7 separate regions of the Homo sapiens genome follow, and all the other regions are linked to region 3. Evidence: promoter capture Hi-C in 16 types of primary human blood cells and fetal thymus (Javierre and others, 2016). All regions are on one chromosome and are shown on one strand. The core of a region is centred on a gene start or on the middle of the fragment in contact, and the rest is flanking DNA. Distances in the headings are between cores, read along the strand shown.

The links. Contacts are between HindIII fragments. The CHiCAGO score rates a contact against its expected background, and 5 or more counts as called.
Region 1: a contact is called between the fragment with the promoter of LINC00696 here and the fragment with the promoter of NPRL2 in region 3, in 3 of 17 cell types (endothelial precursors, erythroblasts and total B cells). The highest score is 7.1, in endothelial precursors.
Region 2: a contact is called between the fragment with the promoter of RPL29 here and the fragment with the promoter of NPRL2 in region 3, in 5 of 17 cell types (total B cells, erythroblasts, naive CD4 T cells and 2 more). The highest score is 8.2, in total B cells.
Region 4: a contact is called between the fragment with the promoter of PPM1M here and the fragment with the promoter of NPRL2 in region 3, in 1 of 17 cell types (total B cells). The highest score is 5.3, in total B cells.
Region 5: a contact is called between a fragment that was not itself captured here and the fragment with the promoter of NPRL2 in region 3, in 1 of 17 cell types (fetal thymus). The highest score is 5.1, in fetal thymus.
Region 6: a contact is called between the fragment with the promoter of ALAS1 here and the fragment with the promoter of NPRL2 in region 3, in 3 of 17 cell types (total B cells, erythroblasts and neutrophils). The highest score is 9.6, in total B cells.
Region 7: a contact is called between a fragment that was not itself captured here and the fragment with the promoter of NPRL2 in region 3, in 1 of 17 cell types (non-activated CD4 T cells). The highest score is 5.5, in non-activated CD4 T cells.

What each region holds. Positions count from the first base shown.
Region 1 is chr3:52,063,186-52,066,948 of GRCh38, reverse strand. It overlaps LINC00696 (long intergenic non-protein coding RNA 696), which reads left to right and starts at 1,837. Exons shown (of 1, transcript NR_027331.1): 1 at 1,837-3,763. The HindIII fragment of the contact is 16,366 bases long and covers 1-3,763 here.
Region 2 is chr3:51,994,374-51,997,853 of GRCh38, reverse strand. It overlaps RPL29 (ribosomal protein L29), which reads left to right and starts at 1,959. Exons shown (of 4, transcript NM_000992.3): 1 at 1,959-1,997; 2 at 2,385-2,429; 3 at 2,748-2,812. The coding sequence starts at 2,393. RefSeq lists an enhancer at 1,855-2,014. The HindIII fragment of the contact is 1,082 bases long and covers 1,898-2,979 here.
Region 3 is chr3:50,348,634-50,352,041 of GRCh38, reverse strand. It overlaps NPRL2 (NPR2 like, GATOR1 complex subunit), which reads left to right and starts at 1,267. Exons shown (of 11, transcript NM_006545.5): 1 at 1,267-1,467; 2 at 2,020-2,111; 3 at 2,209-2,377; 4 at 2,548-2,656; 5 at 3,032-3,168; 6 at 3,260-3,357. The coding sequence starts at 1,390. It overlaps CYB561D2 (cytochrome b561 family member D2), which reads right to left and starts at 1,180. Exons shown (of 4, transcript NM_001291284.2): 1 at 1,058-1,180; 2 at 482-633; 3 at 1-33. The coding sequence starts at 608. It overlaps LOC127898564 (CYB561D2-LOC101928965), which reads right to left and starts at 1,180. Exons shown (of 5, transcript NR_183066.1): 1 at 1,058-1,180; 2 at 482-633. RefSeq lists an enhancer at 1,006-1,225. The HindIII fragment of the contact is 2,178 bases long and covers 1-1,277 here.
Region 4 is chr3:52,244,033-52,247,723 of GRCh38, reverse strand. PPM1M (protein phosphatase, Mg2+/Mn2+ dependent 1M) reads right to left here and starts at 1,965. Exons shown (of 10, transcript NM_144641.4): 1 at 1,676-1,965; 2 at 912-1,029; 3 at 496-750; 4 at 1-42. The coding sequence starts at 1,899. RefSeq lists silencers at 1,622-1,681, 1,722-2,091. The HindIII fragment of the contact is 3,516 bases long and covers 1,186-3,691 here.
Region 5 is chr3:52,277,631-52,281,300 of GRCh38, reverse strand. WDR82 (WD repeat domain 82) reads left to right here and starts at 2,652. Exons shown (of 9, transcript NM_025222.4): 1 at 2,652-3,100. The coding sequence starts at 2,940. RefSeq lists enhancers at 2,029-2,660, 3,130-3,229, 3,640-3,670, 3,293-3,670 and silencers at 2,390-2,679, 2,860-2,939. The HindIII fragment of the contact is 710 bases long and covers 1,594-2,303 here.
Region 6 is chr3:52,196,151-52,199,501 of GRCh38, reverse strand. It overlaps ALAS1 (5'-aminolevulinate synthase 1), which reads right to left and starts at 1,342. Exons shown (of 12, transcript NM_000688.6): 1 at 1,247-1,342; 2 at 654-830; 3 at 62-292. The coding sequence starts at 260. RefSeq lists silencers at 1,101-1,180, 1,291-1,360 and enhancers at 1,501-1,720, 1,731-1,800. The HindIII fragment of the contact is 12,746 bases long and covers 1-3,351 here.
Region 7 is chr3:51,675,029-51,678,356 of GRCh38, reverse strand. All of the region lies in intron 2 of TEX264 (testis expressed 264, ER-phagy receptor), which reads right to left. Among named protein-coding and RNA genes, the nearest start is that of TEX264, 5.4 kb to the right of the region's middle. The HindIII fragment of the contact is 6,271 bases long and covers 1-3,328 here.

The DNA.
Region 1 (3,763 bases), core at 588-3,087, 1.7 Mb before region 3:
AGGACCAGGCTCTTTACATAGCTCATCTGCTGCCTTGCAACACTCTTGCCTGGTAGACTGAAGCCCCATTTTATAGACCAGCGGTCCTCAACCTTTTTGGCACCGGGGACCAGTTTCGTGGAAGACAATTTTTCCATGGACTTGGGCTGGAGGCATGGTTTCGGGATGAAACTGTTCCACCTCAGATCATAGGCATTAGATTCTCATATGGCGCATGCAACCTAGATCCCTCTCATTCGCTGTCCACAATAGGGTTCGCGCTGCTATGAGAATCTAATGCCAACGCTGACCTGATAGGAGGTGGAGCTCAGGCGGTTCTCCACAGCCCGGGATCTGGGGACTCCTTATAGAGGAAGAAACTGAGGCTTGGAGAGGGGAGGCCAGTGGTGGTCAAAATTGGAGCCAAGTGTCTTGGTCAGGCTCCCCTATCTCCACCCCAACCCAATCTTATCCCTGCCCTGTCCCAACACACATGGCATACTCACACCTTGGTCACCTGAGGGCCACATAGGGCTGTCCTGCTATGCCTGGCAAAGGGCCTGCCAGGTGGTCAGCACTTGACCTTCTCTGGCACAGGTGGGTCAGGCCAAGGCCACTCCTGCTGCCCAAAGTGCATAGGGGTAGTCGAGGGCCCATACCCAGCCACTTAGGACAAAGAGGCCTTTCCTTTCCCTCTGATGGGCCCAATGTGGAACTTCCCTGGCTGCCCCATAGTCCCTGGGAGTCAGGGGAGGCAGAAGGTACTGCCCTGCTTTATAGATGGAGAGATTAAGGCCCAGGGGCTGGGGCACTGCAGAGGCCCCCCAAGTGTGTTGCAGGCAGCAGAGCTGTGTTTCCCCAGCTCCATGGGCTCCAGCTCCTTGGGCCTTTTTGTTGTTCCTGGGAGCTCCAAGTCTGGGTAGTGCCCATGGCCTGGGGAATCCAGCTACCCCTCAGACTGAGTTCTTGGGCCGGGCCTTGGGGCTGTGGGCTGGCTGATGCTTCAGGGTCTCTGGGGAGGTCTCCAGCTCCAGCCAAATGCCTCCCAACACTCTTCAGCCCACCAGCCCTGGGCTCAGCTGCTCCTAGGGCTCAGGCTAGAGGGTTGTCCTGTTGGAGATGGGTGTCAGGGCAGTGCTGTCCTCTGCTGGGAGACTACGTAAGCCACGGGGAGGGGCAGGGAGGTGGGCAGGGGCCCAGGCAGAGTAGGCCCTTGTCCATCCTGTCCCCACCTTGGAGGGCCCACTAGGAGCCCTGAGAGAGCCATTGAACTCCTCCCTCCTCGAGGGCCTGATCTTTTCAGGAAGGGAGTCATCCAAGTCTTGAAGCATGTGCGCCTGTGGCCGGAGTCAGGCTGGGTGGGGCCAGGGCAGGAAGGGGAGTCCTTAGACTATTTCCTGCTGTTGCCTACCTGGGAACAGTCCGCATCCAGGTCCCGGCAGGCAGCTGGCCAGCTGAACCACGTGGAATGGTGCTGGGCTATGAGGCCTCAAGCCAGCAACCCTGCACCTGGGCCAGGCCAGCCGGCTCCCAAGCCATTTCCCAGCTTCGTCATGGTCACCCTCACTGTCACCATCAATGCCTCATAGGAAGGATTCCTGAAAAACGGGGCCGTGTGGGCAGGCAGGGAGGGGACCAGACAGGCCCAGGCAGCAGGCAGATGCTAATGAGGCAATTAAGCCCCTGGCACATCCGCCCACGAGGTGCCATGAGAACTCCTGGCCTCTTTTGCCCTCCCCGCCTCAAAGGTTGGACTGTCTTCACTGTCAGGAACCTCCCACTGCCAGCTCTGCCAATCAAAAAACCATAGGTTGGTTTGGCAAAGATAGAACCAGGGCAACCCCCAGCCCCATCACTACTTCTTGCCATTGCTCTGGTTGAGCAAATGCCTGCCCGAGATGTCTTCTCCCCCTCCCCATCCCCTGCTCAAACCACCTGGGCTCCAGGCCCTTCCTGGCAGAGGTGGCCTTCGAAAGATCAGAAATTTTGAGCAGGGGGCCAAGAGTGCCATGGTGGCCACGTGGGCATGCAGCTAAGGATTCCTGCTCCTGCAAAGCCCTGGCTCCCATCCCTCAGGCTCCCAGGTGGGCTCATGGCGTGCAGCCCACAAGCCCTGGAGTGTAAGGCAGGCGAGAGATCATCCCAGGGCAGAGATGCTGAGGATCGTGGGGAAGGGGATGCAAGAGGCGAGGGTGTAGCCCTCACCCGTGGCTTTGGAGCAGGGAACCCAGTCCACCTGGGTTTATCTGAGTCCTTTCCCCTTCTCCTCTGCCTGCCTCTGAGGCCCGAGGACATCAGATGCAGCACACCTGATTTCCCTGGGCTGTTGAGTGTCTTCTCCTGGCTCTCTAGGGATGACCTCCGTGTCAGCAGATGGGGTGCCCAGGTGAGTCAGAACCCCTGACCCAGCCCAGCCCCTCCTCCAGGCTTGAAGGGGGGTGGCGGTGGGGTATAGGACTAAAACCCAGGCTTAAGACCCCAGGGACCTTCAGGTCCATGAAGAGGTGGGAGTTTGGGCTCATTCTGTGGAGGACGGAGGAGCTGTAGCTGGGTGGGGGAAATCAAGGGCTATGGTCCAAGGCCAGGATGAGGCCTGCCAGGCAAGGTGCCAGCAGGTCCATCCCTTCATGTCAGGGAGCCCTCTGGCTCCAGAGACTCTCACTGAGTGACTCTGGGCAGGTCATACAGAACAGGCTGAGGCCCAAGGAGGGAATGGAAGTAAGAGGCTTCTGGAATCATCGAGTATGGCAACGGAGGGCCAAAGATGTTTTGTTTTGTTTTGTGGGTTTTGTTTGCTTTGGTTTTTTGAGACAGCCTCTCGCTTTGTCGCCCAGGCTGGAGTGCAGCGGCATGATTATGGCTTACTGCAGCCTTTGCCCCTCAGGCTCAAGAAATCCTTCCACCCAGTGTCCTGAGGAGCTGGGACTACAGACATGCACCACCACACCCAGCAATTTTTTTTTTTTTTCCTGTAGAGATGGGGTTTCGCCATGTTGCCCAGGCTGGTCTCGAACTCCTGAGTTCAAGTGATCCACCCACCTCAGCCTCCCAAAATGCTGAGATTACAGGTGTGAGCCACCACGCCTGGCCCCAAACATGTTTAAATCATAGGACCATGTGCTCATGGCTGACAACACAGAAGAGTCTAGAAGTAGGCCAGGGTTCCAATCCTGGCTCTGCCACTTCCCAGGTGCCCACTGTGGCCCTCAGAGGATGAGTGGGTTTGGGGGACAGAATAAGAAGGTAGTCAAAGGCGAGAGCTGGGAGAAGAGGGTTTCAGAAGGGGGATCAGTGAGGGCAGAGGCCCTGCAGAAGGAGCCCGGGCTGGGGAAGTGCGGGTGAGAGAGTGAAAGCTGCTGGAGAATCCAGGACGAGGAGAAGAGGGAGGGGAGGGGTCACAGAGCATCGTGTAGACTCTATGCAGAGTGTAGACTCTATGCTGGGGACAGTGGGAGGCTGTGGAGGAGGAGAGGCTGCCTCCACCTTCTCAAAAGATCCCTCTGGCTGCTGTGTGGGGAATGACTGTCGGGATGGAGGCAGAGGCCTGGAGAGGAGGCACGGGAGGTGGTCTAGGGGAGAAGGGGGAGAATCTGGGCTGTGTAGTGGTGGCCAGATGGCTTCTGAAATTGAGTACTGGGATGGATTAGCCATCTCTGTCATGGAAGTGGAAAAGGCGTTTGGTAGCACGAATGTTCTGTGGAAGACAGAGCCCTTCTCTTTATGGGCATGCACAGCTGCCTGTCCTCCCAGTCTGTCTCCCACCCTGCTAGCGCTGGGCCTCCCC
Region 2 (3,480 bases), core at 710-3,209, 1.6 Mb before region 3:
AAGCAAACCATGGCCGGGCACGGTGGCTTACGCCTGTAATCCCAGCACTTTGGGAGGCCGAGGCGGGCAGACCACCTGAGGTCAGGAGTTCAACACCAGCCTGGCCAACATGGTGAAAACCCGTCTCTACTAAAAATAATTCTTTAAAAATTAGCTGGGAGTGGTGGTGTGCGCCCGTAATCCCAGCTACTCAGGAGGCTGAGGCAGGAGAATCGCTTGAACCCGGGAGGCAGAGGTTGCAGTGAGCTGAGATCGCACCACTGCACTCCAGCCTGGGAGACAGAGTGAGACTGTCTAAAAAAAAGAAAAAAAAAAAAAGAATAGAAAAGAAAGGAAACCATGAGAGGACACAGAATCACTGGTGAGATGAGGCAGTGGTTCTCTATTTTAGATAATGGAGTCCAGGGAGGCCTCTATAGGAAAGAGCACACCATCCAAAAAGCAGGGAGAAGGGCAGTCCAGGTGGCTGGGATAGCAAGTGCAAAGGTCCTGAGGCAGAACACACATTTGTGGTTGGCAGGAAAGAAAGGCAATGCGTTTGGAGAGAAGTAAATGACAGAGGTTGTCAGGGTCAAGTGGGTAAAGAATTGATCTTCAATGCAAGGGGATGTCCTTGCAGATTTAAGGGACAGGATCTGATTTGTATCTTAAAACAAGTCCCCAAGCCCCACTGCCGTGTGGAAAATGAACTATAGGGGGAAGAGGTGGAGAAGGCAACAGAGTTGTTAGAGGCAACAATTTCTCAATTCTGATGTCCAACAGGCATCTCACATTTAATGCATCCAACAAAAATATCTGGCTCATCATTCCCCCTCAAAACAAAACAAACAAAGCCCCTGCTCCCCACTCAATCTTCCATCTCTGTAAACAGCCCACCATTCACCCAGTTGTCAAGCCAAAGACATAGGGGCTATCCTTGCCTCCTTTTTCTCCCTCATCTTCTGTGTCCCAAGTCCAGTACTCTTTCTTTGTCCACTCCTCTGCATTCCCACTGTCCTCCCTCAGGTCCAGGCAGCCCTCTCTCCTTCCTCCCCTCTGCTCCTTCTCCACGAAAGAGTCAGGCGTGCTTTTCTTTTTTTTTTTTGAGACAGAGTCTCGCCCTGTAGCCCAGGCTGGAGTGCAATGGTGCGATCTTGGCTCACTGCAACCTCCACCTCCCAGATTCAAGCAATTCTCCTGCCTCAGCCTCCAGAGTAGCTGGGATTACAGGCACGTGCCACCACGCCCCGTGAATTTTTTTTTTTTTTTTTTTTTTTTTTTTGGATTTTTAGTAGAGATGGGGTTTCACCATGTTGTCCAGGCTGGTCTGGAACTCCTGACCTCGTGATCCGCCCACCTCAGCCTCCCAAAGTGCTGGGATTACAGGGGTGCTTTTAAGAACACAGATCGGCCAGGTGCGGTGGCTCACGCCTGTAATCCCAGCACTTTGGGGGACAGAGGCGAGCGGATCGCGAGGTCAGGAGTTCGAGACCAGCCTGGCCAACATGGTGAAACCCCGTCTCTACTAAAAATGTAAAAATTAGCCGGGCGTGGTGGTGGGCGCCTGTAATCCCAGCTACTCGGGAGGCTGAGGCAAGAGAATCGCTTGAAACCGGAAGGCGGAGGTTGCAGTGGGCCGAGATTGTGCCACTGCCCTCCAGCCTCGGTGGAAGAGCGAAACTCCGTCTCAAAAAAAAAAAAAAAGAAAAAGAACACAGATCTTCTTGCCCAACAACATCCCTCAAGGACTCCTTTCTTTTTCAGTATCTTGAATAAGACTTAAGAGACAGGTCCTGGAGAAACAGAGAAGGGAGGAGGCAGCCTGAAGGGGGCGGAGGCAAGCTCGTAGCACCGCCTCCACGTCTGGCTTGCGTTCTTCCGGGCTTCGGAACTTTTCTTCGCGGAGCCTGGGGAAGCTTTTCCAGTAGTACTTTCCGGCGTTGTTGACCCTATTTCCCGTGCTGCACCGCAGCCCCTTTCTCTTCCGGTTCTAGGCGCTTCGGGAGCCGCGGCTTATGGTGAGTGTTGGCCGCGCGGCATCCGATGCCATCCGCGACTTACGGGTGGCGGCGGGGCGCGGGCTGCGGAGAGGACTGGTGACCGACCGTGTGTCTGTCGGGAGCAAAAGCTGCGGGGTGGGAATGGTGCTTCTAGGTCCTAGGAGGGGGATGGCAGGGAAAGCCACTTTATTGGGGAATGCAGCTTTCCGGGGGTAAGGAGTTGATTTCAGGGCATCATTACCTGGGTTTGGGAGGCCAGGACTGGCGTTTGGTCGTGCAGAGTAAGCCGAGACTCGTGGAGGCTGCACATTCTCTGCCTGCAGGCTCATTCTGACCAGAATGGGGGGGGCAGAGGTGGCCCAGCCTGGCGAGCCCTTAACCCTGATCTCCACTTTTGTCTTCCAGGTGCAGACATGGCCAAGTCCAAGAACCACACCACACACAACCAGTGTAAGTTTTTTGGGCCCTGCCTACATCCCAGACCCTGGCAAGGACTGGTTCAGGCAAACTGGGACAGAGATGAAGGGGCACGTTTCCATTGTGGGCCTGAGGCTGATTGATTTCACCCAGTAATAACTTTAGGGTTTATAGGTTTAGAGATCTACTTGAGATACAGAGTGTTTTGCATTTAGTAGTAAGGGTTTCCCATATCTCAAGTGTAGCTGCTGTAGGAAGTGTTGGTTCTCCCAGACTTGCCAGCTGTGATGTTGGGTGGTCTTATTAGAGGAAAGTTCTTTGTTGGCTTAATTCCCTTTTTTTCTCCCACAGCCCGAAAATGGCACAGAAATGGTATCAAGAAACCCCGATCACAAAGATACGAATCTCTTAAGGGGGTGAGTGCACTGAATCACATGGAAGTGTCTTTTCTTGGTTCCAGGTGCACAGTCAAGGCCTCTCATGTAGTTTTTCTCTAGCTTTGGCTTCTGCCTGAGCACAGCCTAACTGGCCCACCCAAAGCCTGCAATTCCTTTTTCTACCCTACCAGACCCATAATAAAGCTTTCCTTGGTCTCCACAGCCTGAAGTGTAACCCTCTGGTCAGGGTGTAACCTGCCTCCTGAGGGCAGTTTGGCTATCTCCCTTGCTTGGCAGTGGCACTTAGGGTAAGGAGTGGCCTTGTCTGAGTGCGTGCAGGGCACATTCCCACACTGACCAGCCTTATGACCTCCATCTGACCCAGTGCTGGAGTTGGGGTCAGCTTCTCTTCCTGTGTCAGGGGGTTCTAAGGATTAGCTGAGAAGGCTGGAGGGTCTAGGGGAGAGCTGAGCATGTCCCCAGTCTGTTCCTTCCCTTTACTTTTGCTCTCTGTTCCGTGGAGTGAATCACAAACTCTGAGCCTCAGTTTCCCCATATCCCACCTTGGCTATAAGTCTTTTGGACCAGACTTGGTATTTAATTGACACCTTCTTCTAAAGAGGGGAGGGGGTGTCCCTGAGGGGATGTCAGGAAAAAACTTGGTCGAACCCCTGCTGTAGGAAGTTGAAGCCCCACAACCTTGGCAG
Region 3 (3,408 bases), core at 18-2,517:
AAGACATAAGCACCGGGTGCCAGGAGAACAGGCCTGGAATGAGAAGAGGAGGCCTCATGGGGCTGAGGCAAGAAGAAACCAGCCATACCAATCCTTAAGGGTTGAGGAATACCAGCAGCCCATCACCCAAGGAGGTGCTGCCAAACTGTGAGCCCCTTCTTGCTCTGCAACAAGCTGACCCCACACCTATCCTCTCTTCCTGGCCTCTTCCTGGATCAGAGGCCATGCTTTGCCACTCCTCTGGCAGTCCTCCCTCCTTCCCTTACACCTCCTGAGAGGCAGCCAAATGGAGCACCCAGAGAAGGAAAGACAAACCAGGAATTCTGTGTGCCCTGGCCATACCTACCTGCTCCACCTCACTCATCGCTCCAGCACAGAATTCCCTCAACCAGCCAGGCCTGTTCCCGGAAGTCCCACTGCCCTTCCTCCCCAGGAACAGTGGCCCTTCCCTTCCCAGAAGTCAGCTATGAATTCTACTTACTGGAGCCAGGCCTGGCAAGCACAGCCACAAAGATGGTAAAGCCCAGGGCCACAAGGTGGGCGGCAGCGCCAGAAGCAGTACGCAGAGCTCGGTAGATGTGTGACTCGGTCTCCGCAGAAAGGGCCATCGTCAGCCGTGCTAGTGGTTGTAGCCTGAAAGCATAGTAGCGTGGGCCAGGATCTCAGGTGCCCACTGTTCACTCCTCACTGGAGAAAAGGCTGCAAGGCAGGAATGCCACCCTCTTCCAATAAGTTATGGTAGGAAAGAACAGTACCAAGACCAGCACCAGGAATGGTCACAACATGCCAGTCGACGGCCGGCGGCCTGTCAACGTGTACCCATGTCTGAACTGGTACCAATCGCTGGCCCGCCTTCCAGGTAGGAGGCGCAAAGCCATGTAAGACTACAAATCCCAGCGTGTACCACGCCGTCGCCGGCAGTAGAGCCAGCTGGGAGGGCGCGGAGCACTATGGAAATTGTAGTTCCCTGCTGCGGTCCCAGTTACAGCGTGAATCCCTTAGCGCACCGCCTCCCCAAGTGCTGCCAGCATGCTGCCCCTCCACGCTAGGGACTTGCCTGCCTCTGCCGCAGCGCAGATCTGATGCGGTGGTTTCCTCCAAAGAAAGCGGGATACTCCGGGCCCTGCCGCGCGCACCGCCGCTCCGTCACGGAGCCGCTTTACTTCCGGGTGCGACGTCTACCCACCCAGGACTTCCTGGGACGAGCCGTCCCCCGCCCCAGCCACGCCTCTGAGTCGCGCTGCGCAGGCGCCATTGGGCAGAGGGATTGGCAAGCTTGCGTGCCCCAGCGACACAGGCCTCGAGGCTGTCTCTGACAAGTGTTCACAGGAGGTGGGGACGCCTCTGCGCGAGGAACGAGGAGCTACGGGCCTGGGCCCGGTTATTGCCATGGGCAGCGGCTGCCGCATCGAATGCATATTCTTCAGCGAGTTCCACCCCACGCTGGGACCCAAGATCACCTATCAGGTGCCACCCGGGCTCGCGGGACTGGGCGGGAAGAGGGACGTTCTCGAGAGCTCAACTGGCTGCCTGAAGGCAGTAGTTTCCCGTGCTGCACGCAGGCATGCTGCTTCATTCGCAGACAACTGTGAGGCTAGAGGATAGTCAGACCCAGGCCCCCGGCTCCCAATGTGGCAGGGAAGACATACGTCACATTGGCAGTGTTTGTAGGATATCGGGCTGTAGGGATCCGGTTGGGGGGTTCCAGGTCCCACAGAAGGTGAGTTGGGTGACCCATGAGTATCCCTGAACTGAGTGAAGAGTAAATGATGCATAGGAAGTTTAGGTAAGGCAGGAGAAAGTGTTCCAGGTAGAGGGAACAGCATATGCAGAAGCCAGGAAGGAGGTGAGATCATAGCGTATGTTTGGAAACAGAAAGAAGTAATAGGCCTGAGTGGATGGGAGAGAGGGGAACGCTGGAGAAGAGGACTTGGGCTTGGGGGGCATGAGGAGGTCACCATTTGTACTACACCCAGTACAGATGTCCACTGAGGGGCCCATTGCCACTCCCCTCCCCAGGTCCCTGAAGACTTCATCTCCCGAGAGCTGTTTGACACAGTCCAAGTGTACATCATCACCAAGCCAGAGCTGCAGAACAAGCTTATCACTGTGTGAGACCCTAGCTCGGGGTGAGCGGTGGGTGGCAGGGGTTGTCCCAGGAGGAGGAAGGGACAGGCTTGGGGGCCTGACTGTGTTCCAATTATCCAGCACAGCTATGGAAAAGAAGCTGATCGGCTGTCCTGTGTGCATCGAACACAAGAAGTACAGCCGCAATGCTCTCCTCTTCAACCTGGGCTTCGTGTGTGATGCCCAGGCCAAGACCTGCGCCCTCGAGCCCATTGTTAAAAAGCTGGCTGGCTATCTGACCACACTAGAGGTCTGCAATGAGATGGGCTTGGGTTTACCGACAGGCAGAGTTGGGGAAGGTGTTCCCATGTCTCCAAAGTCCCCCAAACCTGGGACCCTGCAAACCAGCTCAGGACTCAGGGCAGCCAACCAGCCAGGGGTCCTGGGATGTGCCCACCATGCTTTCCATGCTCTGTCTAGCTAGAGAGCAGCTTCGTGTCCATGGAGGAGAGCAAGCAGAAGTTGGTGCCCATCATGACCATCTTGCTGGAGGAGCTAAATGCCTCAGGCCGGTGCACTCTGCCCATTGGTATGGCCAGCCTCTGCAAGGACAGCAGAGGGGTAGAGGAGAGATGGGAAAGTGAACCCAGCTAGTCAGGGAGAAGGGCAAGACTCATGAACACATTGGTGGGCAGGAAATAGCCATGGGCTGAGGTGCCCATGTCCAGGGTCCAATGCATGATGGAGCTGGGACTGGGGGTAGGGGGAAAGCAGAGCTCTCCAGCTCTGCCCCTTGGGCAATTCCTTCCCCTTTGTGGGCCTCCGTTTCTCACTCCATAAAAAGAGAAAGATTAGCCCTACCCAGAGGCACCTGCTTGCCCCAAGGGATGCTGGGAGGCCTGGATGGTAATTGAGGACCTCTTGGAAGAAGTGGCACTGAGGATATGGATGGGGCCCCCTGCAGATGAGTCCAACACCATCCACTTGAAGGTGATTGAGCAGCGGCCAGACCCTCCGGTGGCCCAGGAGTATGATGTACCTGTCTTTACCAAAGACAAGGAGGATTTCTTCAACTCACAGTGGGACCTCACTACACAACAAGTATGCCATCCCTCCCTGGGTATCATCACCTGGGGCTGGCCACAGCCCTGGCCTCATCCTGTTTCTTCTGACCTTGTCCCACTCTGCCCAGATCCTGCCCTACATTGATGGGTTCCGCCACATCCAGAAGATTTCAGCAGAGGCAGATGTGGAGCTCAACCTGGTGCGCATTGCTATCCAGAACCTGCTGTGAGTGGGCCTACAGTCATACCTGGGACAAGGTCACCAGCCAGGGAAGAC
Region 4 (3,691 bases), core at 716-3,215, 1.9 Mb before region 3:
CATCTGGCCTGAGGCCTCCAGCTCCCGCCCGATCACCTCATCCTGGGGAAAACCGAGGCCACCTTAGCTGCTGCCTGTTCTGCCACCATACTACTTTGTCTCTCAATCCCCACCCTACCCTACAGTTCACTTCTACCAGCAGGCCTGACAGTCCCAGCCCAAAGTCCAGCCATACCTCCAAGATCCCTGCAGTCAGGAGATCTAGACAAGGGAAGTGCTACTCAAAATAGGAAGAGAAACCAGCCCCTGCACCAAGGACCAATAGGGTATTCAATTAGATGATGCAGGTAAAAGCAGTTAGCACACAGTAGGTGCTGGATAAATGAGAGGGGTTATGCTGATAGTGATGGCTGTTAGTAACAATCCAACCAACCCAATCTCATCCTCCCAATCCAAGGATCTGGTGTGATGACCATGGGTATACAGAGATGCCATTTCCTGAGATCCCCGGGGCAAAATCTCCACTTCTTCCCCAGCCAAAAGCCACACACTCACACATTCCTGAAAGGCACTCTCCAATGCCCCGATCACCAAGTCTTCTGCCCTGATGCCCTTTTCCTCCACAAACTGAGGGTCACTGGGGCAGATGCAGCGGCCATTGAGGTGCATGGGGGGCTGAGTGGCCACCAAGCCTTCCACCACGGCCTCCAGCTGCCGGCGCAAGCAGGAGTGCAGGGTGTTGGCAGCCAAGATGGCTGCTGCAGGACCGCCGTGCCCATCGAACAGTGCCCAGTAATGGCCTGTCAGGAACTGCACAGGAAGGGCTCAGTGTCAGCCTCTGCCTGACTTCCCCACTTGTCCCCTGACGCAACCTAACTAGGACCTGGGGCAGCAGGGTAAGAACCTCAGCCTGCAGGTCGTGGCCCCAGCCTGTCGGAGGGATTCCAGCCAAGAACTCAGACTGCACTCACCTCCTCTGGGCACAGGGTCAGCCACTCTTCTTCAGCCCCAAACTCACATCTCCGGATGCACAGCTTCCCACAGGCGGCTTGATCCTCATTGAATTCAGATTTCTCTGCATTGATAATCCTGAGGCCGGGAAATGGTAAGCGACCCTCCAGGGACACACCTATGTCCCCATGGGCACAGGGACCCAAGCCAGCACAGGGAGAAGACCCCTCCCTCTGGGGCAACAGCTCCCCAGTGCTGTCCCTAACACACACTTAGACAACCACGATGTAAGCTTCCTAACTTCACTGGCCTCATGGCTAAGGTAAAAGTCAGGGCCCAGCTCCTCTGGAGCCTACCTGGTGACCCAGGGCTAGACGGTAAGGGTAGGTTGCCATTCCTGCCCCTGTCCTGTCGCAGCCCAAAGCCCTGTCCCATACAGCGCAGGTCATACCCAGGGTGAGATGGTGGGGGTAGAGGGCGAGGGGAAATCTCCAAAGCCCCGAATGCTGGAACTCTACCGAGTCTCTGGGCCTCATCTTGGAAGCCCCTGGGCTGCAGGTCCTTCCCGACCTCCTGTCTTCTCTGAGGGGGAGGTCGGAATCCCAAGGAAAACGCTGGGTCGGGATGACCGGGAAGTTGTCAGGATTCGGAGGTGAGGGCAAGAAGGGGCTGTCCACAGGTGGGTGGGGACTGTCACTCAGCTCCTCCCGCTTTCTAGGCGGGCGCAGGACCCGAAGCGGGTTCAGGCCCGGGCCTGAGCTGGGGGTCGGGGAGGGGCACTCACTCGGCGTAGCCTGCATTCCAGGGTAGCGTGCGTCCTCGTGCGGGGCTGCGCACGGGCCGGGAGTCTGGGCGGCGCGAGGCGTCGGCCGCCCCGGGGCTGGAGCTGGAGCCGCGAAGGAAGCGGGGCCGTCGGTAGGGCACGGGGCTGGCATGCGGCCCAGGCGGCCGCGGCGCGGGGAGCGGCTCCCCAGGCAGGAAGCGGCGCCGGAACCAGCCGGCGGACATGGCGCGGCGGCAGGGGGCTGCCCGCGGAGCGCGGGGCGCTAGGGCTGGGCCGCCCGCGGGAGGAAGAAGCGGGCCGCGGGCGGAGCCGAGGGAGGGGTGCGCCGGCGGGAGGCGGGGCCGGGGGCGCGCAGACGGGAGGCGTCGCCCCCCAGCCCCGACCTCCGCCCGGGAGTGCGTGCGCGGCTGGTTCGCTGACTCCAGGGGTCAACGCTCGCGACCGCCTGAAGAAGCCCACGCCGGCATCAGCCCCATTTGACAAGCAGGAAAACCGAGGCCTAGAGAGGCGAAGTCGCCTGCCCAGCGTCCCACAGTAGCCAGGGAGGACTGTTCACCCACGCTTGCGGGGCACTGGTGGTTGAGAGGAAAAGTCCCCCACACTCCGCGGGGCCAGCGTCGCGCAGATCCTCGGACCTCCTCCTGCTGGGTGGGGACCTGACGCAAGGGGAAGATGGGGACAAAATGAGCTGGGAGGTGTCAGACCCCCACATTGAGTAAATGCCACCGAGCACAGGTTCCTTCAGGCGGCCTCCAATCCTCTCCACCCCGGCCTGCCACCCTCCACCCCAGACGGGCTTAGTGGGCACCTTGGCTTTCCCCGTCCTGAGAGGCTGCTGCCACCCTCGAGGACAGTCTTCCAAATGGCTGTCCCTGCATTCAAGATGTCTTCGCGGAATAGACAGCAGGATCCTTACTGGACTGTGAGTGAGTGACGGACAAGAGAAATCTGTGTGAGTGTAAAGGGGAATCCGTGGTCCCCCAAAGGCTCCAGCTGGTCCGAGTTCAGACCTGGGACGGAGGGAAGTGAAAGACGAGGAACCATCTTGCGGTCTCTCAACCACTGGCTAGCTGTCACCAGGCGGTCAGCCGCAGTGTCCCCTTCACATCTGCGAGTTAACAAAGCACTTTGTCACCCATTTGTCACTCAAGTCCAACTCCCTGTGCAAAAGTGTTACTTTGGCCGGAGGCAGTGGCTCACGCCTGTAATCCCAGTGCTTTGGGAGGCCGAGGCGGGCGGATCACTTGAGGTCAGGAGTTCGAGACCAGCCTGGCCAACATGGTGAAACCCCGTCTGTACTAAAAATTAGCCAAGCGTGGTGGTGTGCGCCTGTAATCCCAGTTACTCAGAAGGCTGGGGCACAAGAATCGGTTGAACCCAGGAGGCAGAAGTTGCAGTGAGCCGAGATGGAGCCACTGCACTCCAGCCAGGGCAACAGAGCGAGACTCAGTCTCAAAAAAAAGAGTGTTACATCATATGGACGATTCTGAGGCCCATGGAGGGGAAGTCTTGGACACCCAGGGCTGTACTATTTCCATTATGACAATGCAGCTGACTCAATCCTCGCCCCCAGGGCACTTCTCTTCCCCTTTCCTCCTCCAGGAAGCCAGGGCTTGCCAATTAAAAGCGGCTAAGGCTCCACAGCCCAGTGCCTGCATATGAGCTGTATGAGGAGTCCACCTTCACCTCCACTCCCTAGCCCAGGTAGACGCTCAGTAAGCCCTACTTCCTCCCAGCAGCTAGTCCTGCCCCAGTGGGAGTTCCTCGGGCCCAAGAAGGAAGGTTCTTAGGGCAGGGACCTGTGCCCAACACCCACTCCCTCCGATGACTCAGTCCCAGACCAGCCTGGGGGCTGATTGACTGAACCCACAGTGTCTGCTGGGGCCACACTGGGCACAGGAACGCAGTGCTAATGGAGACAAGCCAGGCCTCTGCCCACCAAGCCCCCTGCAGTGATGGTAGCAGTTCTGGTGGATGCTGCTTCATCCAGCTGGCAAGAGGATAGGGGCGATGTCA
Region 5 (3,670 bases), core at 699-3,198, 1.9 Mb before region 3:
GGTTCTACATCAAAATGGTAAATTTCGTGTTATATATATTTCACTATAATAAAAGATTGTAACAGTGGCTATCTCTGGATGCTGTTTTTATTATTTGTATTTTTTAGTTTTTTTGCAATGAATATGTGACAAGTAAAAGAATGACTACAAATAAAAGGAAACATAAAAAATTAAGTCTGATGCTCTTTTAAAGCCCATCTGATTCACTCTTGACTGCAGCTTTCTCTCCATCCACCCATCCACTGGAGCCGGCTTTCTGTGTCACTTTTTAAAGTCCATTTTTTTTTTTTTTTTGAGACGGAGTCTTGCTCTAATGCCCAGTGCAGTGGTGTGATCTCGGCTCACTACAACCTCTGCCTCCCGGATTCAAGCGATTCTCCTGCCTCAGCCTCCCAAGTAGCTGGGATTACAGGTGCCCGCCACTGTGCCCAGCTAATTTTTGTATTTTTAATAGAGACAGGGTTTCACCATTTTGGCCAGGCTGGTTTTGAACTCCCGACCTTGTGATCTACCCACCTCGGCCTCCCAAAGTGCCACCGCACCTGGCCTAAAGTCCATCCTTTAAGGCAACCATACTGTTGGGCTGGAAGCCAGGAGAGCCCCACTATAATAGGGCAGGGAGCCAGGCTAGGAATTGGAAACAGTAAGAATGCGAAACAGGATGAGGATTTGAAGACCCTCTTAAAAATGGGGGAAAAAAAAAAAGACTGCATTCCAAAAATAATGCAGAAAGTCAAGTCTTGGGAGGAAGGTTTGGTCTTAACGGTGAAATCTGGAAAAGGTATAGGAAGTACAATACTTGAAAAATACCCTGCAAAGATTTATTTTGGCTGGCAACATTCAGTAGATTACAGCTGTTTCTGTGGTTATTTTTGTAGATTAACATGGACCAAAATATGGCATCATCTTACTGGGTGTGTTCACTTCCCGACAGTTCTAGAACATGGTACTCGATCTGTCCTTGTTGCCTTCTAAACTATTCGAAGCAGACGCTGTATCAGACTTTCTAGCTTCTGAAATAAAGGCACAGGAATTACAGGGAAGCAGAGCAAGTGATCTGGGACGTGGAGGGTTTTTCTTCCATTGTGTGCAGTTTGGAAAGTTGCCATCTATTCAGGTTTCACTCAAACCGGCTTTTTCCAGACCCCAGAACAAATTGTAGCCAGAAGCTCTGCTCTTTGTCAGGAGGCAATTATACCCCAGACTTAGCCAGGAACTTGCCTCTTCCCTTAGAGAACAACTTCTCTTTATGTATAAGGATCCTGGCTCTCCTTTTACCCAGGGGGTTGGGATACAGCCTCTAGTTCTTTCTAGAAAGACCCCAACTGTCCCAGGGTTTCCATTTTGTTTTTTACCATTGCACAGGTCTCTGGATAATAACCTTCCTAATAGCGACTGAAATGTCTCACAGCCTTTCCTCGTTTTTGTTTCTCTTTAGCTAAAGAAAGCAAAAATAAATAATCCCCATCTTCATTGTTGGAAACCCCAGGCAATTAACCTTTTGAGGAGCTTCACACAAGATACAGATCTGTGAAGCCACATAGGTTGGCATTGAGTTTAACCCCTTGCCCAGAAAGTTAAGGTTAGGAAGCTTGGTTCCTATTTTCTGTTCAAATACTGCTTTCCTTTGTTAGAGATAAACTTTCTTTTAAGGCAAATAATCACTTATATGATAGAACCTTTAAAATAATCCTGTTGACTACAAACAGGATAGTGCAACTCTTCCAAATCTTGAATGTGGTGGTGACTGCATGACTGTGTATGGGTGTCAGAACATAAAACTAGCCACTAAAAAGGCTAATTTTTGGGGGGAAACCGTCTGCTCTGTCGCCCAGCCTGGAATGCAGTGGCACGATTTCGGCGCACTGCAGCCTCCGCCTTTCTCAATTCTCGTGCCTCAGCCGCGCCATCATGCCCGGCTAATTTTTTGTATTTTAGTAGAGGTGGGGTTTTGTCATGTTGGCCAGGCTGGTCTCAACTCCTGAGCTCAAGCGATCATCCCGCCTCGGCCTCCCAAAGTGGTGGGTTTAAAGGCGTGAGCCACCGCGCCCGGCCTAAAAAGGCTGATTTTTACTGTACCTAAAGTCTACCTCGATTAAGAAAACGAGGCCGGGTGCGGGTGAGGTCAGGAGTTCGAGACCAGCCTGGCCAACATGGTGAACCCCCGTCTCTACCAAAAATACAAAATTAGCTGGGCGTGGTGGCGCGCGCCTGAGCGAGAGACTCCATCTCCAAAAAAAAAAAAAAAAGTAAAGAGGTCGAAGCTGTCTAAGCGGACGCTGCGGTGGACTAGCGGTCAAGCTTGCCTGCGAGCGGCTCACCTGAGTCACCCCCAAAACCGGCCTCCAGCAGCATACCCGACCCTGCAGTACCCCCTCCCACGCAGCCTGCGATCGGGACGCCTGCAGGAGGCGCCAGAGTCTTCGCGGGGGTTGCAATCCCGCGCAAGGGCCCCCGGCTCCCAAGGCATCCGCAACCTTCCGATCCCCCGGGAAGGCCCTGCACGTCTCGGCCGCTCCCTGCCAGCAGCCCGCCCCGCCACTACACTCCGCCGCGGCCGCGCTGACGTCACCACCCCGCCTCCCCGCCTTGCTCCGCCGTTCCCGCCCCGCCCCCTTTCCCGGCGTGCGCCGCGGCTGAGGCTCCTCGCCCTCAGCTTCTGCCTGTCGCCCCAAAATGGCGGACACAATGAGCCGGCGACGCGCCGGTTGTCCGTGAGGTGGCTGTGAGGACGAACGGTCGGCGAGGCTCCACAGTCCAGGCAGAAGACCCTCGACCAAGCAGGAAGAAGAGGAGGAGGCGGCCCAACTGTTGGCCGACTTCCCGCTAGCCGCCGGCGCGGCGCCCGCCCCGCCTGGGTTGGCCCCTCGGCAGCCCGCCCGCTCGCCGCCGGGCCCCGCCCCGGCCCTGCGCCGCCGCTGCCTTCCCCAGCCGCCGCCATGAAGCTGACCGACAGCGTGTTGCGGAGCTTCCGCGTCGCTAAGGTGTTCCGCGAAAACTCGGACAAGATTAACTGCTTCGATTTCAGCCCCAACGGCGAGACGGTCATCTCGAGTAGCGACGACGACTCCATCGTGCTCTATGACTGCCAGGAGGGCAAGTGAGTGCGGCGGAGGCCCTGGGCCCGAGTCTCAGTGCCTCCCTCCGGTGGCCCAGCACAGGTCCCTCGGCCTGCCCTCCGTCCCGACTTCAGCCCCCAGCCTATTTTGCACGCGTTCCTGCCAGGGCCGCCTCCACCCCGCAGCCGTCCAGGAGACCTTTTATTTTTTTCTTCTTAAAAAAAAAAGATAACGATAGTCATAATTTTATAATATTATTTGTATGTCTTCGGTCTCCTTTGAGCGCTATGCATCACTTGCCAAACCCCACCTTGACCTTGACCTTTAAACGCCCGGTCCGCCCACCCTGGGCCCACCAGGTAGCGTTTTCAGCTCCTCAGGCTGTCAAAGGTGCTGGTCTGCTCCGGCCTCGACGCAGGACTGCAGGGGCTGCTTTTCTGCCTCCTTCGGCAGCGTCAGCTCTCTCTTGTGCTCTCTCCACTGTGACCTCGATTCCGCCCTGGCACTCCGCCCATCCCCTGCCCCTCAGCTTCCCGCGGCCTTTCTGCCGTCAGACCGCGTGGGTTGCACTTCTTAGCTGTCAGGATTTATTTGTTGTGCCCCTTTGAGCC
Region 6 (3,351 bases), core at 93-2,592, 1.8 Mb before region 3:
TTCTAGTCTACCAATGAGCACAAACACCCATACCTGCTCCTTCATTGTCAATGACACTTACTCTCACTGGCCGGAGGGGTTTCTTTGATCTGTTGGTAGTGTACTGCTGCAGTGGACAATGCCCGAGGGGCTGGCTTGGCCCCAACTTCCATCATCTTGGGGCAGTTTTGGGCATAGAACAACAGAGATTTGCCTGCTTTCTGCAGAAAGGCCTGGGGGACTCGGGATAAGAATGGGCAGCGGCGAACAACACTCTCCATGTTCAGGAAGTATGCTGGCTCCTGTGGAAAGACTGATGAAGAGTGACATCAACAGTTGTTAATAATCAGGCAAATATCACTGCAAGCTCACTGGATTCAGGTGTCAACCGCAGTTTATATAAAGGGTACCCTGGAATACTAACACTTCTCCCTCAAAAATGCCTAAGGACAGCACTGATGTGAGCTAAGGAATGGTGACCACACTTTACCCGGGTCACCAACTTCTTCATTCTCCAGCGCTACACAAAGGCACCTGCAAAGCAACTTCACCAAATGAATACTGACAGTACATAATCAAGGGGGCGGAAGGATGAGGGAAAGGTCAAGAACAGGTTTGGGAGGCCAGAGGTTTCTTAGGGAGATGCACAGTGCAGATAAGACATCTTGGCTTACATCTAGGTGGAGAAGAAGCCACTCATCCATCCAGGCAGGGAAGACTCTTAGGGATCCTGACTTTCTCCTGGTCCCCACATCCCCTAAACCCGAGGAAGGGGTCCAGCAGGGTCCCGAGTCCCTGAAGCAAGGATTCCTCCGTGGTCGTGTCCCCACAGCGGGAAGAACTGGGCATAACTGAGAAAGGAGGGGCACAAATGAGGGTAGGGGTATGAGGGCCAGCGCCTTGGGCCTCACTGGGGACGCGCAGGGGCTTATAAAGTCGAGGGAGTTGAGTCTGGAGAAAGAAGGCAGTCCTCCGGCAGTGGGGGTCAGAGGTGACCCGCGGTCGAGGTCTCGAGAATGACGGGAGGGGTATGAGAAGGGAATTCTAAAGCGGCGGGTTCAACCGGGAATAGCCGGAAGGGGCCGAAAGGGGGAAACTGAGGCGGCCGTCTAGGCAAAAGATCTGGAGGATAAACGCTGACCTCAAGGCGGCGGGTGACTGGGACAGTGGGGGATGGGGTCCCAGCACCCGGGGCAGCGGTGCCACGGCTGGCAGGACACCCCGGGGCTTCCTCGGCCGGCGCCGCACCTACCGCGCGGGCCCTCACCTGCGCTGAGGACTGCAGAGGCGGCGGCGAAGGAGGCGGGCACTCAAGTCGAGAAGTCCAAACGAAACGCTCGTTGCCCTTGTCCGGGAGCAGCCTCAGGCCGCGATCGCCGGCGCCTTAATATACAGCGGGAGTGACCGCTGCGCATGCGCCTTGGGCGCTGCCTTCTTCTGCGCAGGCGCGCCGCGTAGCCCTCGGCGAGCCGGGGGGGCGGGGCAGAGAGGCCCACTTCTTGGGCTCTGCGGATATCGGTGCTGCCGGGGATTCCCCGGCTCGCCTGCAGGGAGGAGGAAGCGCTAGGCGGTGGGCGGACGAGGTCTCTTTTCCCGACCTCATCCTGCACCCTCGTGCTGCCTCCCCACCAACTACCCTGGGCTTCAGAACCCTACGCCCCAATTGAGTATAAAATGGCAAGGTCGAGGCGAGGTGCCGCTAGGGCCAAGTTGGGGGCTACAGGGTTGTTAAGCTGGGTGTCTTGGACATGGAGGAAGAAGGAGATCCAAGGGGTTCTGGGCCGGGGTGTTAAGCAGGATCCATCCCGCCTGCGGCTTGCTTTGGAAACTGTGAACAAGGGCTTCCCGGAGGAGGTGGAGCTGGCTATATCGCCCACAAATGGAGTGGTCCTGGCAGGATGCGGAAGAAGCGGGACACTCAGCTGTGGCACTTTCTGGTCTAAGATGATCCAGAGGGGACAGAGGAACAGGGCTAGGGTGGAACCCATCCACTCCACAGCTCTGAGCACTTGGGGAGGAGGGGAAGGCACAGGGCCTGACAATAGTTAGCGTGTAACAAATATTAGCCACTATTTTTATTTTCCATCCAGGGTTGTCTGAAGCCCCTTGCTGGCCACCCTGGGCACCAGCAGGGTGGCTTAGGCCTCCATGCCAAAGGTCAGCGTTGGGCCATACCTCCATTGAGTTTCCCGGGTACAACACATAAAGTGTAGGGCTTGGCAAACCCGTCTCAGGAATGTCAGTCTGGCTTCCTTGCCCCACACCCTTCCCAGCTTGGCTTGGGCTGTGTTGGGCTGGGCCTGTGCCAGGCTCAGAGGTACTCTCCTCCATTCTTGAGGAAAGGGCCTTTGAGGGTATTCCTTTCCCAGCTGAGCATTAACAAGAGGGACAAAGTCCAGAATGATGGTGACCAGGGTGTGTCCAGGTACTTTGCATTTCTGTCTCTGAGCACCCAGCTGGCTGCAAGGCAGGTGAGGTGAGTCTCCACCTTCAGAGGAGGCACCTGGGTTCAGAGTGGCAGTGGGACCAGTCCAGGATGAGGGCTTTGGTCTGAGAGCTCGAGACCCAGTTCTGTGCCATTCAGCCAAGAGATCCTGGGCAGTGCCCATCACCCAGAGAAGATGAGAGAGAAAAGGTCAGCACTTGGACTTGGACCCAAGTGCAGCTGGAAGTGGGAACAGAATAAGGATGATATTGAGTGCTTTGCTCATCTTTGGGCCTTGCTTTCCTTATCTGGGCAATAGGATCATAATCCCTGAAATGCCTGCCTCACAGGTTGTTTTTGTTGTTGTTGTTATTTTGTTTGTTTGTTTGAGACAGAGTCTCCCTCTGTTGCCCAGGCCGGAGTGCAGTGGCACAATCTCGGCTCACTGCAACCTCTGCCTCCCAGGTTCAAGCGATTCTTCTGCCTCAGCCTCCTGAGCAGCTGGGATTACACCACCACGCCCAGCTAATTTTTGTATTTTTAGTAGAGATGGGGTTTCACCATGATGGCCAGGCTGGTCTTGAACTCCTGACCTCAAGTGATCACCCTCAGCTTCCCAAAGTTCTGGGATTATAGGCTTGAGCCACTGCGCCTGGCCCTCATAGGGTTTTTTTGGGGGTGATCAGAGCCAAAGCCAAAGCAGAAAGAACTGGATAGTGGAGTTGGGCATGGGTTTCAAACCCAGCTCTGAATCTTACTTGGCCATAGACTTGGGCAGGCCACAACCTCTTCAAGGCTTGGTTTCCTGATTTGTAAAGCTCTCCCGCCCTGCCACTTGTGGCTGGCAGGAGGGTCAGGTGAAGTCCTGTATTTCAGAGGCTTATTGTTTAAACCAGCCAGTCCCTAGCCCTCTGGGAGTTTCCTGTTTAATATAGAGAAAGATTGGG
Region 7 (3,328 bases), core at 320-2,819, 1.3 Mb before region 3:
CACAGGCACAGTGATAGCAGCCCAGCCACTAGGGCCTGTCCACAGGCCAGAGCTGGCCAGGATCAAGCGAGGCACTCAGGGTCCTCTCAGCTCCTTCCTTCCCCTCCAACACTGAAGGCTCCCAGAGGGACCAGGCCCCAAAAGGGAGCCTGAAGTCACTTTCCAAGCCCCCAGCACCCACCGCAGAAGCAGGGCTAAAGGCAGAGCAGTTTTTCTAGTCAGGACCCTTCCCCAGTCATGCAAGGGCAGTATGGACCAGTGTGTGTAAGGGAGATCTGTGACTGACATCCGCCTACATGTGATCCTTATCTCTGAACTCATACCCCATCCCTTGCATACCTTGAAGAGGAATGGCCCACACTCCATGAATGCTGGGCTCTGAGGTGGGTGAGTACACCCATGAGCCCCTGCCAGGGTCTGTCCACTTCCCAAAAGACTTCTTCCCCACCTTCCCATTCCCAACCATGCCAAGGGTTTCAGGGATGGAGAATGGAATCCTTCCTCCTGCCTCACAAGAACCACTCACCCAGACCTGCAGCCTCTTCCCATACAGGACTCCAGGGCACAAGGCTAACAGCTCCAGCAGCAGCTACTATGAACAGGTCCACACCAACTGCCACTGTCCAATCTTAGTGGTACCCTTTCTTGTGCTACTTCCTGGGTCCACACCCAGCCTAGGTGGGACCAGCCTACTCCCTGCCCAGCTGAGGACAGGACGAGGCATGGCTAGGGAGCTGTCCGTCACACCTCATGGGGTGGGCAGCATCTAAAGCCAGGTGGCACCTCTCACCTGGTTACTCACCACCCCACTCACAGAGCCTGACACAGCCTCACTGCCTCCCCACACTCACAGAGAAGCAGGTTCTGGCTCCTGTCACTCTGGGCTAGGGAAGGACACAGTGGGGGTGGGACACTGAACAGGTCAGCCTCTATTCTCTTTCTCTGAGAACCAGAGCATGCCACGCTGCACACTGCTGGTGGAGGCAGCCTAGGGGACAAAAACCTTTGGTTCTCAGCCCACTCCAGGACCAGGATGGGGCCTTTCCTCTAGGCTCCTAACACCCACACACTGGCAGGTCCTGGTCCCCATGGTACCCTAGTGCCCAACACAGAGCCTGGTACAGAGCAGGTGCTCAGATATTTGTTAAATGAAAACAAAAACATATGAGATCAGTGCCTTTCTCCTACTATCTGAATCTGTTTCTCCCTCCATAATATGGAGTGTGGACCAGGAGGCCTCAGGTCCTTCCGGACCAGTCTGTGATAGCCACGAGCACCTGAAGCCTGGGGGTCCATGGTTCCCTGAACCTGTTACAATCTCTGTCAGGCAGAGAATGCACTGACCAGCTCCAAGAGTAAATGGGGACCCAAGTGTCCCTGAGCCATCCCAGGTGCCAAGTGTGACCTAGCTCTAAATGGGGACACAGGTGTCTTCTGGACTGACCCAGGACTGGGATGGGCAGGGTCAGAAGGGCCACCTTGACTTGTTCATCATCCTCTGTGCCACCCAAATGACCACAGCCAGGCCAAGGGTCTAGGTTTGCTCAGTCTGACCTCTCAGCATATGTTAGCACAAGTGGTTTTCCCACCCATCTTTGTTGTTGTTAAGCATCTGTTGAGGGCTAAGTGCTGGGGTAAATGCCTCACCTATATCACTTAACTCTTCTCAGTCTACTATGAAGCAGGTATTTTATCATTACTCTGCAGACAAGGAAATAGAGGCTCAGAAACATTATGGGATATGCCTAAGATCACTCAGCAGGACAGTGATGGGACAGAATCAGAACTCGGGACTGCTAGCCTCAAGGCTGTGCTCTCAGGCCACAGTCCCCCAGACAAGCACCCTAGTCAGACTATGACCAACCAACCCTGGAGACCCAGGGCCCACCCCATGGGGTCCACCACATCTCTGGGAAAGCTGCAGGAGGCAGTGGCCAGGCCAGAATATCCCATGCCAGGCTTCTTCCATCTCACTCTTCCCTAGACCAGCCTCCAGCACTGACCCCAGGGTACCCTGCTGCCTTAGCCCTTTCCCATCCAGGAATTAGCACCTCCAACCCAAGAGGCAACCTGTTGATTCCAGAACAGGCAGACACGCCAATGAGAAGACAGCCAGCTGCAAGGACTCTTCTTGCAGAAGGCTCTGACTGGGCCAGGTGTGGAAGGGGGGGCAGGGCCTTACACAACGGAGCCCTTGAAGGGGTGAGGGTCACACATCTGCTCTAGGAGCTCCCCATAGCCCACTGTCTGTCCCATCCCACTCAGGCTCCAGTGCTCCCAACTTCAGTTAGTGCCATCTCCTGGCCATGTGACTGCAAAACCTCAACCAACCCATGTCGCCTCTCACCTGGACCCAGCCCAATCTCTTCTACGGCCTCCTGCCTCATCTCCTTCCCTCCTCCACCTGCCCTTCAGCTAACTTCCTAAAACAAAGGTGGCAAATTGTGCCACATCCTTCTTCTCAACCTGCTGTACTTCCCCACCACCTGGCTGGGCAAACCCTTCCACCTTTCTCCACCCAAGACATGTCTACTAACCACAATTCTCTGGTCATCCCATGTCTTCAGGCTCTTGCTGTCACAGTTTTCTTAGCCAAGTACCCCTTCCCAACAAAGCAAAATTCTACTTACATGAGAAGGCCCAGCTGAAATCTACCCCTTCTCTGAGCCTCCCCAGCAGACTCATGGCAGCCTCCCTGAACCTACAGCTCAAAGTTCTGTGGACATCAAGCACAGTGTCTTGTTGGAGAATCACTTATGTGGGGCTGACATGTCAGCCACACAGAGCTTCCTGAGGGCAGAGCCAGGTCTGATTCATCTCCAGAGTGTAGGTGTAGAGTAGAACCTGGCACAGAGAGGGAACCAGTACATCCTGTTTCAACTAGTGCCCCAGTAAGCCGGTCAGCACACATTGGGTAGACTGCAGGACTTGTGCACTTGAGCTCTCCAGGCAAGGAAATCAGAGCTGGGGATTCCAAATGCTTGGTTTGGCATGGCTTAGTAGTAGAGGCTGAAGAACCCTTGACAGAGCTGCCAGCCCATCCAGCTGTGGGCAGCACCACCCCATAGCATAGCAGTAGGTTACATTAGCAAGCTCTGACTCACCATAGGTTGTAAGAACAGCCAGACGCTCACAGGGTGCTAGTGATGCTGGATTAGTTTTTGACTTCAGCATTCTGAACATTCTAAGTAACTCATCTGGCTCCACTAGCCCCCTTGGCCATCTCCCAGCACCAGCTTGAGGTCTAAGGAAATGCCATATCACCAGGTTGAGGGGCATCAGAATGGCTGAAGAGGTAAGATTCCAAGCCCCATCCCCAGGGACTGCC